Regions from separate parts of the Homo sapiens genome. Here regions 1 and 2 are each linked to region 3. Evidence: promoter capture Hi-C in 16 types of primary human blood cells and fetal thymus (Javierre and others, 2016). All regions are on one chromosome and are shown on one strand. Each heading gives the region's core, a stretch centred on a gene start or on the middle of the fragment in contact. The rest is flanking DNA. Distances are from core to core; before and after follow the strand shown.

Region 1 (4,707 bases), core at 475-2,974, 390 kb after region 3:
TGTTTTCTCTTCAAATCAGGAAAGTGTTATGTATTCAAAAGGAGGAGAGAATCAACTTGGGAAAGGCAAAGTAGATCCCTTTTACTTCCCTTTGGTTCCAGTACTGTTTCATGTTTTTCATTAGAATGTGGATAAGGAAATGGGGGGAGCGCTCATTAAGCTTTGTGAATGACAGCAAACTGGCAGGAGTATTTTAACACAAGGTAACTCCTAACAAGGGCCATATCCATTGAAAACGGGGTAAATGCACTTGACTAAAATGGACATTAGAATGTTAAATGTCCTTGTCAATTGGGAGAAATAGAAATAAACTGTAAAATCCATGAGAGAGAAGTAACAACATTGAAATGTAAAACAAGTATAAATAAAAAAGATGCACACATTATATGTATAGACTCTAGGTTGAATGACTTGTGAGTTAATAATGCCGTATATCCAAAAGTTAATATAATCTAGCTGCAGAGTAACCTCCCTAGACTTAGACTGTGAGTAGAGTGCAGGGTTTAGGATGCTGTTTTTCTGGATGAGTATTGAATGGAAAACAGATCAATGAAAACAGTGAAAATTATGTAATGGCTTGAAAAATACAGTGTAATAATTTGTCTTAGAAATATTACTGTAACTTATCAATTTAACCACTGTTCCATTATAACAGAACGGGAGGTTATCTCCTTACTCCATATATTTACATAGTGCTATTGTTGCTATAAACATTTTATAAATCCCTGTTAAAAATGCTTCTAGAATATTTGGGTGCATGTCCTTAAGGGAGGCAAATCTTTGCCCTGTGACAAGATGGAATTGATTTTGCAAGAACAAAGACTATTCAGAATCAAATATGGTGAATAAAGTGGGAGGTCAAAATGGGTAATACTGCTTGGCATCAAAATAAGGTGGGACTGGAAAGCAAGGAGACTGCTTTACTTCTGAGGCCTATAAACCCGTTGAGGAAACACCTCTGAAAGAGAAGTTCCAGAAAGGTTTTGCATAACCACAGCTTTGCTGGAATAAGTCAATTGTAGCCTTCCAAGGTAACTATTTTGAAGAACAGTTCTTACTCATTTACATAAACTTTGGAATTTTTGTTTTTTAAAAATTAGTCATACAACATAGCAGTTATGCCTGAAAGCCCTCTATTAAGGAAATAATGATTTGAGAAAAAAATGCTCAGGAGTTGTCAACAATACGAAAGCTTATTTTAGAAGGCTCATTTTCACTTGCACTTAATGCTGGGATTTAAATGACTTAGAGGGAAGAACTAGGTGAGGCCAGTATGATTTAGTGTCAGTGAGTATGTTAAACACTTTTGTGCAGGCATGAAAGTAAAATTCAAATCTCTTCCTTCAGAAAAGACTTCCCAGTTTGCTTGTCCCCAGCAGCTATCCTTCTTCTTTTAATAAGTGGATGAGTGGGGAGGAAAAGCAGCCCAGTCTTTAAGACTGGAGGCAGATATCCATGTTGTTGGAGCCTAAAGGGCAACCACAATGTTTGCAAATGAAAGCTGACATTGCCTTTTGACATGCAGGCCTGTCCATCCTCAGCTACTTATCAGGGTCAAGTTGACTTTAAATATCCTTGAGAGGGACCATGAGAAGTCAGTGTAGCCTTGCTGGATCATGGTTATTCAACCAGCTATTTCCATGGCTATAATGGAGAGGCTTGGGAGCCCAGATAAATCCCAGTTTCCTTTTCTGGGCCTCAAAGGCAAGCGCCAGACTTTATCTATGGGGACATTCTGCAACCCAAAACAGTCAGAACCCTTCTCAAAATCCTCTGGCGAAGTACCCACCTATCATCAAGCTGCTGTTGTTGGCTCTGAAGTGGTAAAGCAAATATCCACTTATATAATAAAGAGGGGAAGAGCAGAGGGAGATAAATCTCCAATTTCCAGATGTAAATGGTATCTATACATATTCACCTGTGAAAGATTAGGAAATGGAAACATTAGCTTATTTGATTTTCTTGCATCTAGTAATAAGTATTCAGTGATCTTGTGTGCCAAGCACTATCTGAAGTACCTTACATACATTTATTCATTTAATCTGTGAAGCAACTTCATGAAGTAGAAACCATTTTCATTATTTTACAGTTGAAAGGAGGCTTAGGGAAGTTATATAACTTGTCCAAGGTCACACAGTTTAAGTAGCACAGTTATGATTTGAACTCAGTGTATCAGACTCTCAAGCCTTCCATATAGCTTCCCAAAAGCAGATTACAAGAACCAGGCAAGGCACAGAATTTCACAGTAAAGCTTGTCCCTGAACATATGACCTTCAGATTAATAGTGGGACATGTAAATCATTATAGCCACAGAGAAACTTTAAAAGGAAAACAAAAAATACAAAATTAACCCTGATTTATTGGTGGCTAAGGACAGTTAGTTGCCCATGTATATTTGTGAAATGACTTATACAGGAGGCAATGCTACCATGATCTGTAAATTCTTAGATATGAACAAATATAGAATCATTTTGAATACAATAAAAATCTTTGTATTTCTAGCATCTTATAAATTACCAATGGCTTTTACATATCTTATCTCTTTTAATCCCCACAACAGCCCTGTGAGCCAGTCATTCTTGGCCTCATGTTATAGATGACAATTTTGAAGCTTAAAGAGGTTAAGTGACATACCCAAGATCACACAACTAGCAAAGCTGAGGCTCAGACTCAGGCTTTTTGACTCAAATGTGGCTTGTCTTTTACCAAACCACTTACCTCTCTACTGGGTTGTTTGGCTTTTCTCCAAAGCCAGGTAGAAGTTTTTCACATTGAGGTTTTTCAGAAATTCTTACTTAGATATTTCATCTTTCTGTAAAAGGCAGATTTATTGGCCCACAAATTTGGGGAGCCATATTCATTTTTATATTTGGCATAGCTTATGCCCAGGTCCTCTCCATAAGGGTGTACTTTTATCGAGTTAGAATTGTTGAGTTAGATTTAGATGTGTATATAGAATGTTCAAAGTAGCTTCCCACAGTCCGGTTTTCTCTTGGGGGTGAGGAGTTCCAGGCCTCCGAAGCCAAACCGTTCAGAATTGGTAGCCAAATACACCATTGACTGCAGCAGAGCAATGCAATTGCTGAACATTCCCCTTATACAAGATCAGTTTTGAATAAATGCATGGAAACACGATAAGCTAAGAGGCTCAATTTATCTTTGCTTATTAGTAGCTCTAGCCAGCATATGACCCGTAGTCTCTATGAACAACTCTTCTGATGGATTTTATATGCCTTGTGTGATGTGAAAGATGAGTAAACAAACCCTTTATTGGAAATACATGAGGTTTTGTGGGGGGAAGTAGGAAAGAATGTGTCAAATTGTGATAAGTGATACTGTGTAGAGTATTTCTGATTGAACATCCAGTAACTAACCTTTTAAGCTTCCGGTTTTTTGTTGGTAGCAGGCAGGAGAAAATAACCAGAGGAATGTGGATTGCTTGCAGCTAACCGGGACCTGTTCATCTGGTTAGTTTCTTTTCTCCCATGCTCTTGAGGAAAGGTATTACTCTTGGATTCCAGTTGGCCAAGAGGAAGGTTCAAGCTTTTTTTTTTTTTTTTTTTGAGATGGAGTTTTGCTCTTGTTGCCCAGGCTGCCGTGCAGTGGCTCAAACCAGCGAAGGCTCACTACAACCTCCGCCTCACAGGTTCAAGCGATTCTCCTGCCTCCTGAGTAGCTGGGATTACAGGTGCACACCACCATGCCCGGCTAATTTTTTTGTATTTTTAATAGAGACGGGGTTTCACCATGTTGGCTAGGCTGGTCTCGAACTCCTGACCTCAGGTGATCTGCTCGCCTTGGCCTCTCAAAGTGCTGGGATTACAGACGTGAGCCACCGTGCCTGGCCGAAGGTTCAAGCTTTTAAATCCAAATAGAATCTAGTGATTAGATTGATGCAGAAATTTAAACTGTACTTGGGCATCACTTGCTTCCATTGGCTCACCAGTGATTGTAGCTGATACAGTTATGTGACAAAAGATTCATTCATTTAGCAAACAAATCAGAGGTGCTTATTGTGTGTCAGGCACCAGACATTGATTTTTCTTTTTAGACATTGATTTTATATTAACTATTAGTTTCCATGTTACTTTACCTTGAATTGGGTCAGTAGATGAGAAATTTTCCTGGGGAGACACACTCTTCAGAAAAGGTCTAATTTAGGGAGGTGTTTTGAATAAGATTAATTTCCCAAATTTCAACAAAACTTTGTCCAAGAACATCATACAAAGTGTCTACCCTACGCTTTTATTCCAATCATCAAATCCTTTAGAGAGATTCCAAGGATTATGTTTCACTGAGACTGATTTTATTTGCTAATGCCAATTTTGGGATTCAATCAGTTTAAATTAGAAATCTGGAAGGGCCCTTCAGGATTGGAGACTAGATTGGTTTCTAGCTAGACACTCCCACCTTTGCAGTTTCAGGGTAAACTTTCTTTCCCAAGAAATAAAAGCATGTATTAAGAATGCTGCTTCTGCCAAGACTCTGTGTAGACCCAGCCACCATTGCCAGATAGTCTGAAAAAGTATAAAAAAATTAGCCGCCCCTCAGTGTGTGGTCATGAAGCAGGGCCAGGGGCACTCTTTAGGTATACAGCATAAAGTATGTCATAGATAGTAAATACTGGAGTTTAGAATCCATTTGTAAAGAACTGTCAGCTTGAGTGTATTAAGGCACAAAAGCAACTTCTGAAACACAGGCTTGATA
Region 2 (4,640 bases), core at 1,001-3,500, 350 kb after region 3:
TATGTAATAAATGGCATGCAATTTTACTAATAAAAGTACAGTATCACCCAAAAGGGTCAAAGTCAGTAGTGTGTTAAACAGCTTATGAAAATATTTATGACTTGAGTGCCAAAATCTAAAGCTGACTCACCTTTCGTATTGCCTATCTCGTGGTAATGAAGCACTCCAATGTCGAAAGTCTATGATTAACATAAGTAAAAGGAGACAGGATATGAAGAAGAGTCCCAGGAATGCCACCCGCTGACGGAGAAATGGACTCACTGTGGGCACAGTGAAGTACCAGGAGGCTGGGCAGAGGTAGGAAAAACTGATCCTGAAATTAGACAAACATTAGTAAGTCTGAAACATTTCTACAACTGAGTGCTTAAATATCGTTTTAAAATTGGATAAAACCCTCCTAATAAAGGCAAAAATCCATGCCAACAGAAGTCTAAATGTTCTTGTCATCTCTAATTTTAGAAGAAGCTCATGGTGCTTCTACTATATATATCAGAAAAGCCTTATCTGCCCTTTTTCCAAACTGCACTTTGAGTGCAATTCAAAGACTTAATCTCATGTTAGTGAAAAGATCACCAGTCTCCCTGGGCAACCTCATAACATTGGAGAATCAGAGCAACTACAGTATTCCCAACCAAGAATTCTGTCAAGAAACAGGATGGTCAGAAAATTTATTTAACTGATTTTAAAAATGTTTTACCAGATTATACAAGCACATAGTAAAAGACAAATCAGTTTAAAAGGATATATTGTATAGTGAAAAGTGATTCTTGCCCTGACCCCACAATCTCTCAGAGGCAAACATTACTACCCAGTTGCTGTGTAATTTTTTTTTTTTTTGAGATGGAGTCTTGCTCTGTTGCCCAGGCTGGAGTGTAGTAGCGCAATCTCAGCTCACTGCAACCTCCACCTCCTGGGTTCAAGCGATTCTTCTCCCTCAGCCTCCCCAGTAGCTGGGATTACAGGTGACTGCCACCACACCCGGCTAATTTTCGTATTTTTAGTAGAGACCGGGTTTCTACTTGGCCAGGCTGGTCCTGAACTCCTGACCTCAGGTGATCTGCCTGCCTTGGCCTCCCAAAGTGCTGGGATTACAGGCGTGAGCTACTGCACCTGGCCGTTGCTGTGTATCTTTCCAGGGATATTCTACGGATACACAAGCATAAATATACACCAATATATTTACAGTAATATATCTCTGTGTGTGTGTGTGTGTGTGTGTGTGTGTGTGTGTGCGTATCCATTCCCTCGGTTTTACACAAATGGTAGTCCACCATACCTGCTGTTCTGCATCTTTCCCCCACTTTATTTTATAACTTTCCCTTATTGGTGCATGTAGATCCACATTAATATTTTTTAAAAGCTTCAGGTTATTATAATGTATGGATAAGTGTATTCATCTGTGAAGTTCACTTTGTATATTGATTCAAAAGGACCTCGGTCTGTCTGCTTTTAAAGTTCACTGCAAACAAAAAACAAAAAAACTTCTTTGTTTAACCTCCTCAAGTGGCACCTAGCCTTGCTCAGATGCGAATCTGAATCAATGTTACAACCTTGCACTTTACAGAGCTGAGCAAGCCGACTCACTCTACCACTCCTGGTCTATGGGCTAGAAACTATTATTTATCAGCCCTCGAAATAATACAACTTTGATCGTCTCTGCATCCAACTAACCAGAATACAAAGTCCAAGTGCAGCTCCAGGGCAAACCTCACTTGGGACAGCCTCCCAGGGCCCCCCAACCTGCCTGCCATCCTCTGCCGTGCTCCCAGCCGGAGGGAAAGTGTGCAGCCTTACCTAGCCATGGGTTCCCTTCGGTGGTCTCAACGCCTGTCACCTTCTTTTTCTTTTGCCCTGAGAAGGTGGCCTCCTTGTCCCAGGCATCTCCTACGTCTGCAGCCTAGAAAGATTTGATTTCAGGCTTCTGTCCGACTGAGCCCACGAGACAAACCTGCACGGGAATTCCACGGCTCCCACCTCCTCCCCAGGCTCCCGCTCCGTCTGCTCTGGTTCCTCAGGCCCAGGGGACCCTACCCGGGCATCCTGGGAGCGGGGCGTTCTCGTGGGCCAGCTCTGTCCTCTAGGAACCGGTCGTCCCCAGGTGGCGGGGTGTGGGTCCCGCTTCCTCTCCCCGTCCCTCCGGGTCCCACAGCCCTCTCGCGCCCACACTCACGGGATCAAGCGGCCCGCCGGTTCCTTCGGCACCTCTCGGTTCAGTCCCGAGCTGCTCCCCGCGGCCCCTTGCCCAGCCGGAAGGAGGGCCCGGCCGGCGGCGGCGCCACGTCCCCAAGGAAACCGCAGGGAGCCAATGACTGACAGAAGACTCACGGAGGGGCCGGCTCTCCACGAGCCGAACCGGGGGCGAACCAGCTCGGTCAGCAGCACGTCCGTCCGCCAGGGTGGCCAATCCCCTAGAGCGCTCGGCCTCTGATGCCCGCCCCGGGACTTTGAGCCGCGCCCAATCGGAAAGGCGTCGTACCGAGGCTCCGCCTGCAGGGCCCGCGGAGAGCTCACAGGTGAGTGGCGCTGGGCGGCCCTGTGCCCGCTTCCCTCCCTGGGGCGCGAACTCTCGGCTGGTTGCTTTCTCCACGGCCGCTCCTGGGACAGAGTAGCTCCGGTAGGTGGGTTCAGGGTGTTCGCGACCGAAGCGCATCCCTTGCCCATAACCTATTGTTGGTTTTGTGCCCACTGACCCTCCCTACCAGAATGGCAGTTCTCTCACCTTAAACCTTCCCTATCACCTCCCAAACTGATGCCCCGACCTCACTGTCTTGCCCCGTGAGAAAACAGAAATCGAAGACAATGACGTTTACACCAAAGTGCTTATGTCCATTCATTCATTCATTGAATGTCTGCTTATGCCAGTCATCATGAATTTCTGTGTCGCCGCCCTCCTTGACCTTACAGTAACACAAAGGAAACGACGCGCGCGCGTGGGTGTGTGTGTGTTTCTTTCTTGCTTACACCAGCCGTTATCTCATTTCCAGGAGGACGGCATAAAGTCCAAGCTCTTTCCAACGTGGCACATCCATTGCGCCCCACGATCCGCCCTACCGCCGTCCTCTGCCGCTACTTGCCTTCCTTACCACGCTCCAGCAACGCGTCCTGTTTTGCTCATTCTGCCCCTCCACCTGCCTTGAATAACCGTCCCAGCCTCTTAGCCAAATCACCTCCTACTCATCCCTTACCACCCATCTTAAGGGTCGCCTTCCCCTAAAAGCCCTACTTGACCTACTACACCTTTTTTATACATGCCTATTGTTTCACTTAGCACGTTGAATTACTATTATACGTATATGTCTGTCTGTCTGTCCCACTAGACAGAATATCCTTGAAGGCAGGGACTATTTGCTTCCACATATTCCCAATACTGGCCACTGCCTGGCAGATAAAACACAACTAATGTATAATTAATAAGCAAATGAATGAATGGGGGGGATCGGGGAGGAAGACCACCCAAATGCTTTATTTATTCAAAGCTTACTATGACAAGGGAGTCAGTCACCATCACTTGCATTTGGCCGACTCAAAGCCTGTCAGGACATTAGGAAAACTACTTACTTACTTAATTACCTACAGGGTCTCACTCTGTTGTCATCCAGGCTGGAGTGCAGTGGTGCGATCGTGGTTCACTGCAGCCTCGACCTCCTGAGCAAGCGATCCTCCCACCTCAACCTCCTGAGTAGCTGGCTCTACAGGCACGTGCCACCATGCCCAGCTTATTTTTTTTTAATTCTTTGTAGAGATGGAGTCTCACTATGTTGTCCAGGCTGGTCTTGAACTCCTGGGCTCAAGCAGTCTTCCTGTCTCAGCCTCCCAAAGTGCTGGGATTACAGGGATGAGCAGCTGCACCTGGCCAGGAAAGCTTAGTAGTGAACAAAAAGGGAAGGTTTCATGTATACTCTGACTTGAGGGTATTAGCATGGGAAAGCTGGAGGTGGGCTAACAAAAGTAGTGTCTCTTAGGTGATTGGTTTGGGGTAGGTAGCATATTTGGCTGTCTTTAGTGGGTTCTGAGTTGAAGAAAGGAGGCGGCAAAAAACAGGGAAACTGAGTCATTGACCAAGTCCTGATTATTCTCGGCTGGTTGCTGTAGAGGTTGTGGGTCAGAGTTCTAATTGTCATATAAGATCTAGCCATTGTCCAGTTTCTATATTCAGTTCTCATGACTATTGTTTTTTTGGCTCCACTACTCTCCTAACCTTGTTGAACTTCCTAATTTGCCTTTCTTCTTCAATTCTCAGTTCTCAGTTTTTTTTTCTCTGTCCCTCAATCCCCACTCTGCTTCAAGTGTTATATTTTATCTGGACCCCCAGAAACCACATTGAATAGAATAGTTGCATAAAGTTGGGATTAACCACAACATTATACAGATACCAGTTATTTTTATTATTTCAGAACCCAGTTCAGTTCCTAGAACAAAATAGATATGGAAAGAACTAAAATAATGTTTTGGAGTAATTTTTAAAAATTTCTTGAATTTACCTTCTGTGAGTTCTAAGTCTAATCTCTATACATATATATTTCAAACTTTAGTGTTCCACAAAATAGGTGTTTTTGAGTGGAAGTATAATTCCTATTTTTAAAATAGTACTTAATTCCTATGGTTTATGAACTATATTAACTTATAATTCAAAAGTTCAT
Region 3 (4,365 bases), core at 1,190-3,689:
CCTATGTTTCCATCTCCAACCTGACCAATCAGCACTCCCCACTTCTCAAGACCCCACCAGCCAAATTATCTTTAAAAACTCCACAAGGTCAGGAGATGGAGACAATCCTGGCTAACACGGTGATAGTCCGTTTCTACTACAAAAATACAAAAAAAAAATTAGCCAGGCGTGGTGGCGGGCGCCTGCAGTACCAGCTACTCGGGAGGCTGAGGCAGGAGAATGGCGGGAACCCAGAAGGCGGAGCTTGCAATGAGCCGAGATCACGCCGCTGCACTCAAGCCTGGGAGACGGAGCGAGACTCCGTCTCAAAAAAACAAACAAACAAAAAACTCCGATCCCCAGGCTGGGCGCAGTGGTTCATGCCTGTAATCCCAGTACTTTGGGAGGCCGAGGAGGGTGGATCACCTGAGGTCAGGAGTTCAAGCCCAGCCTGACCAACGTGGCGAAAAAAATAAATAAAACGAAATGCTTGATTTTTCATCTGAATTTCATATGGCATACTTGACTCCAAACAACTTTAGAAAGCTACATCCACAGAAAACAAAATTGTAGGAAACTGAATAATAAGTTATTTTTATTTTGGCTAATAACATTATCCAAAAATAAAGACAATAGATTTGCAATGTTAATTACTTTCTTGAGGAAAGAAAAGTCACTTGTTTTAAAATATTTATTTATTTATTTATTTATTTATTTATTTGAGACGGAGTCTCGCTGTGTCACCACGCTGGAGTGCAGTGGCGCGATCTCAGCTCACTGCAACCTCTACCTCCCGGGTTCAAGCGATTCTCCTGCCTCAGCCTCCCGAGTAGCTGGGACTACAGGCACCCACCACCATGACCAGCTAATTTTTTATTTTTAGTAGAGACAGGGTTTCACCATGTTGACCAGGATGGTCTCGTTCTCTTGACCTCGTGATCCGCCGAAAAGTCACAGTTTTACAGGCAAATGAAGCATTGCTAAGAATTTTAAAGACTCTCCGAACGTTGATATTTTACTACAAAATGTTCTCTTTACAGTGTTAACATGCTTCAAAAAGCAAAGGAAAAAAAAACAGTATGGTGGCTTCTCAAAAAATTAAACACAGAATTACCACATGATCCAGCAATTCTTCTGGATATATACCCAAAAGAATTGAAAGTAGGGACTCAGATATTTGTACACCCATGTTCATTGCAGCATTATTCACCATAGCCTAAAGGTACAAACAACCCAAATGTCCACAGAAAGATGGGATAAACCAAAGATGTTATATACGTACAATTGAGTATTATTCAGCCTTCAAAAGGAAGGATATTCTAACGCATGCTACAACATGGGTGAGCCTTGAAGACATTATGCTAGGTGAAAGAAGCCACTCACAAAAGGACAATATTGTATGATCCCACTTATATGAGGTATCCAGAGTAATCATAGAGACAGAAAGTAGAATGATGGTTACCAGGGGCTGGAGAATGAGGAGTTAGTGTTTAATGGGTACAGTTTCAGTTTGGGAAGATGAAAAAGTTCTGGAGCTGGATGGTGGTGATGGTTGCAGAACAATGTCAATGTACTTAATGCCACTGAACTGTACACTTAAAAAGGATTAAAATGGTAAATTTCATGTGATATATATTTAACCACAAGTTTTTAAAAAGCAAAGGGAAGGAGAAACATATACAGCATGGGATGAGATTTGTGAAATATTTATTTTTGTTGTGCATGCACAGTCATAGACTCGCCGCCTTCTTCAGAATCCTCTAGGTAGATTCCAGAAACGTGAGGCGCAGCAATTCCAGCAACATAGCCAAGCTGTGTAACTTCGTGGTCTTTAAACAAACAACGGGAATACTGCGGGGATTCAGAAACTGAGTCGGAGGAGGAGTTCTGACAGCCCTGCCCAGTTCTTGCTTCTGTCATTTCTTGCTCTCAAATTCTCAAAGATGTCCTGAGAGACTTTCCTCAGAAAAAAATGGGACAGATAGAGGCGAACCCCAGCGAGTATTGTGTGGCATAATAAGGGAAACTGCCTCGGGGTAGCAAAGAGGACAGCATCACACGCAGACAGGAATCGACTTGGACTTCTCTGAATGGAATTTTGACTTTTTTCTAGGTTGGAGGGTGGTGTCGGGAGTGGGGGAACAGCAAGAGTGGAGGAACTTGTCCGCAGCCGGGGCTGCACGTAGGACTGCGTGAGGCCGAGGCCCGACGAGCCGTGTCGGCGCGCTGCGGCGGGGGCGGGCCCCCGTGCCTCAGTTTCCCCGGTGGCCGTTCTGGGAGCGACGCCCCTCTGACGTCGCGAGGCGAGCAGGGCCGGGCCGGCCGCCAGGGGGCGCGAGCGCGGGGCGGGCGCCGGAGAGGTGGGCGCGCGGGCAGCGGAGCTTGGCGCCCCCGGGGCCGCGCGGACCGCGCCGGCAGAGGCGGAAGCCTGAGCGGGAGGCGGGGCGGCGCGCTGACTCACACGGGATCGACCCGCCCGCCGCTTCCAGGGGCGGAGGTGACAGCGGGCTGGGGACTGGCGGCTGCAACTGCCTGCCGCGCCGAGGGACCGCCGGGCGGCGGAAAGCAGGTCAGAGGCCGGGCCAGGCCGGAGCCGGGCGGGGGCCGGGCGGGGAGCGGGGGTCGCGGTCCGGGGCCGCGGGCGGAGGGGACCCGCACCCCGAGAGACGCGCCGCGCCGCGCCGCGCGGCTAGGCCTGTATCGGCCCTTTCCCAGCGGCGGCGCTGTGCTGCGCTCTGTGGGCCAGGAGCCCGCGAGGGACAGTGGGGCGCAGCGGGCCCCCTCGCACTCCTGTAGTCCCCGGGAGTTGGAGGGGTGGTCAGAGCAATGCGAACGTGGGCTTTTCAAGCGGTGTCAAGCCCAGGGCTCTTTCTCTGCACCGCCCTGCCACTCCGGCAATGAGGCGGAATTTTGAGAGCTGGAAAAAGAATTCTGCGTTAGTCCACCCCGCTGATTTTACAGATGTTCGGAGCCTTACGGCATAGGAGGCCGTGATTCTGTGTCAGGGAGACAGGGACAGATGGCTTCCGAAGCAAGGGTTAGACCTGTTCAGCTGGAGATGCAGCTTTGGTCATGGTGGAGTTTTGCAGAAACCCGCGGACACCCGCGTTCCTGCTGCAGGCACAGATGTCCACCGGGCATCTGTGTCTCAAAGGGTGGTGATGCTGTCACTTTAGTAAAGGAATATTGAGGTTACCAAACAGGCCGGGGCCTGATGCAGATGAGGAGTATAGACTTAAATTTTAAGTGCAAAAACAACTTTAAATGCAGTCTCATTATTACTGCCTGTCTCATTTGTACTGTAATGAAGGGTGAATATTTTTGGCACTCACTTATTCTGGAATATGGGTAACTTGCCTTTAGGTCTGTTTTATAGTAATTCTTTTACACAAACATGAAGATCTTGTATTAAAACACTTTCATAACTAATGATGCTGTAGTATGTGGCAGGCGAGTGGTAACGCTAATATTTAGGGTTTGAGCATAGTCTAGCTCTGCTTGTTTACATAGCTGAGTTAAACGGATGAGCAGGACTGATTAATCTGTAGTAGTTTTTGCAAGACTGAAGTACCTGACAGCATTCGGGGATCATTTCTCAGTTGGTGTTCCGTTTATTACTTTCACAGCATGAATACCGACACGGTGATCAGCAAGTTAGTTTATCCTCTACCCATTTTTCTCTAAAATATTGAATTAAAGGATCTCTAAGGTCCTCTTCTGTCTCGAGTTCTCCGATTTTACATGTTAACTTGAAACACGTCACTCATTGTGATAATAAAAATGTTTTAAGAAGAAAAGATTTTTAGAATTCTGCATAATGGGGCATAGCGAATCTTCAAATTCATTATTCTCAGCTCTCTCAGTCACTTTATCAGGGTTGGGCTAAAATAAGTGAAAAGTGACTTTTCAAATTGCAGATACTTACGTGTTAAATTCACTTAAATTCAGAGGCTGCAATGGAGTGATTTCTGGAGGGTGGAGAGTAGCTCAAGTCTGGCTTGGGAACGGGGTTCGTGCAGTGCACTGATAACTTTTGCAATAAGCCAAGAACAGTCTGACTCAGAGAATGTGATAAATTGACTTTTATACAGTGTTCATATTGTGTATTTTTTGGCTGAGATAATAATAATCTTCATAAACGATCTGTTTAAATATGCACCAGTTATTTATTTGTCTTGCAGCCCCAAGGCAGGGCATTTCCCTCAACGTTCCATCAATCTCTTCCTCTTTTCTGGCTCCTGACTTCAGGTGATCCGCCTGCCTCAGCCTCCCAAAATGCTGGGATTACAGGCGTGAGCCACCGAGCCTGGCTTTTGGCTTATTTTCTAGGTTTAGTATTCTGTTGTTTCTAGAGTCAGCTAATGGATTACCTACAACATGGTATTA

Evidence for each region. The method cuts DNA at HindIII sites, captures the fragments that hold promoters and counts their contacts. A CHiCAGO score of 5 or more calls a contact.
Region 1: a fragment that was not itself captured here is called in contact with the fragment with the promoter of DNMBP in region 3 in 1 of 17 cell types (monocytes); the score reaches 5.7 in monocytes.
Region 2: the fragment with the promoter of ENTPD7 here is called in contact with the fragment with the promoter of DNMBP in region 3 in 1 of 17 cell types (monocytes); the score reaches 7.0 in monocytes.

The regions. Positions count from the first base shown.
Region 1 is chr10:99,614,213-99,618,919 of GRCh38, reverse strand. The region is part of intron 1 of SLC25A28 (solute carrier family 25 member 28); the gene reads left to right. Among named protein-coding and RNA genes, the nearest start is that of SLC25A28, 3.9 kb to the left of the region's middle. The HindIII fragment of the contact is 1,059 bases long and covers 1,195-2,253 here.
Region 2 is chr10:99,657,119-99,661,758 of GRCh38, reverse strand. ENTPD7 (ectonucleoside triphosphate diphosphohydrolase 7) reads right to left here and starts at 2,250. Exons shown (of 13, transcript NM_020354.5): 1 at 2,171-2,250; 2 at 1,795-1,897; 3 at 131-313. The coding sequence starts at 1,802. It also overlaps a transcript of SLC25A28 not described here. RefSeq lists silencers at 2,022-2,241, 2,362-2,571. The HindIII fragment of the contact is 2,116 bases long and covers 1,363-3,478 here.
Region 3 is chr10:100,008,021-100,012,385 of GRCh38, reverse strand. DNMBP (dynamin binding protein) reads left to right here and starts at 2,439. Exons shown (of 17, transcript NM_015221.4): 1 at 2,439-2,548. RefSeq lists a silencer at 2,147-2,666. The HindIII fragment of the contact is 18,497 bases long and covers 1-4,365 here.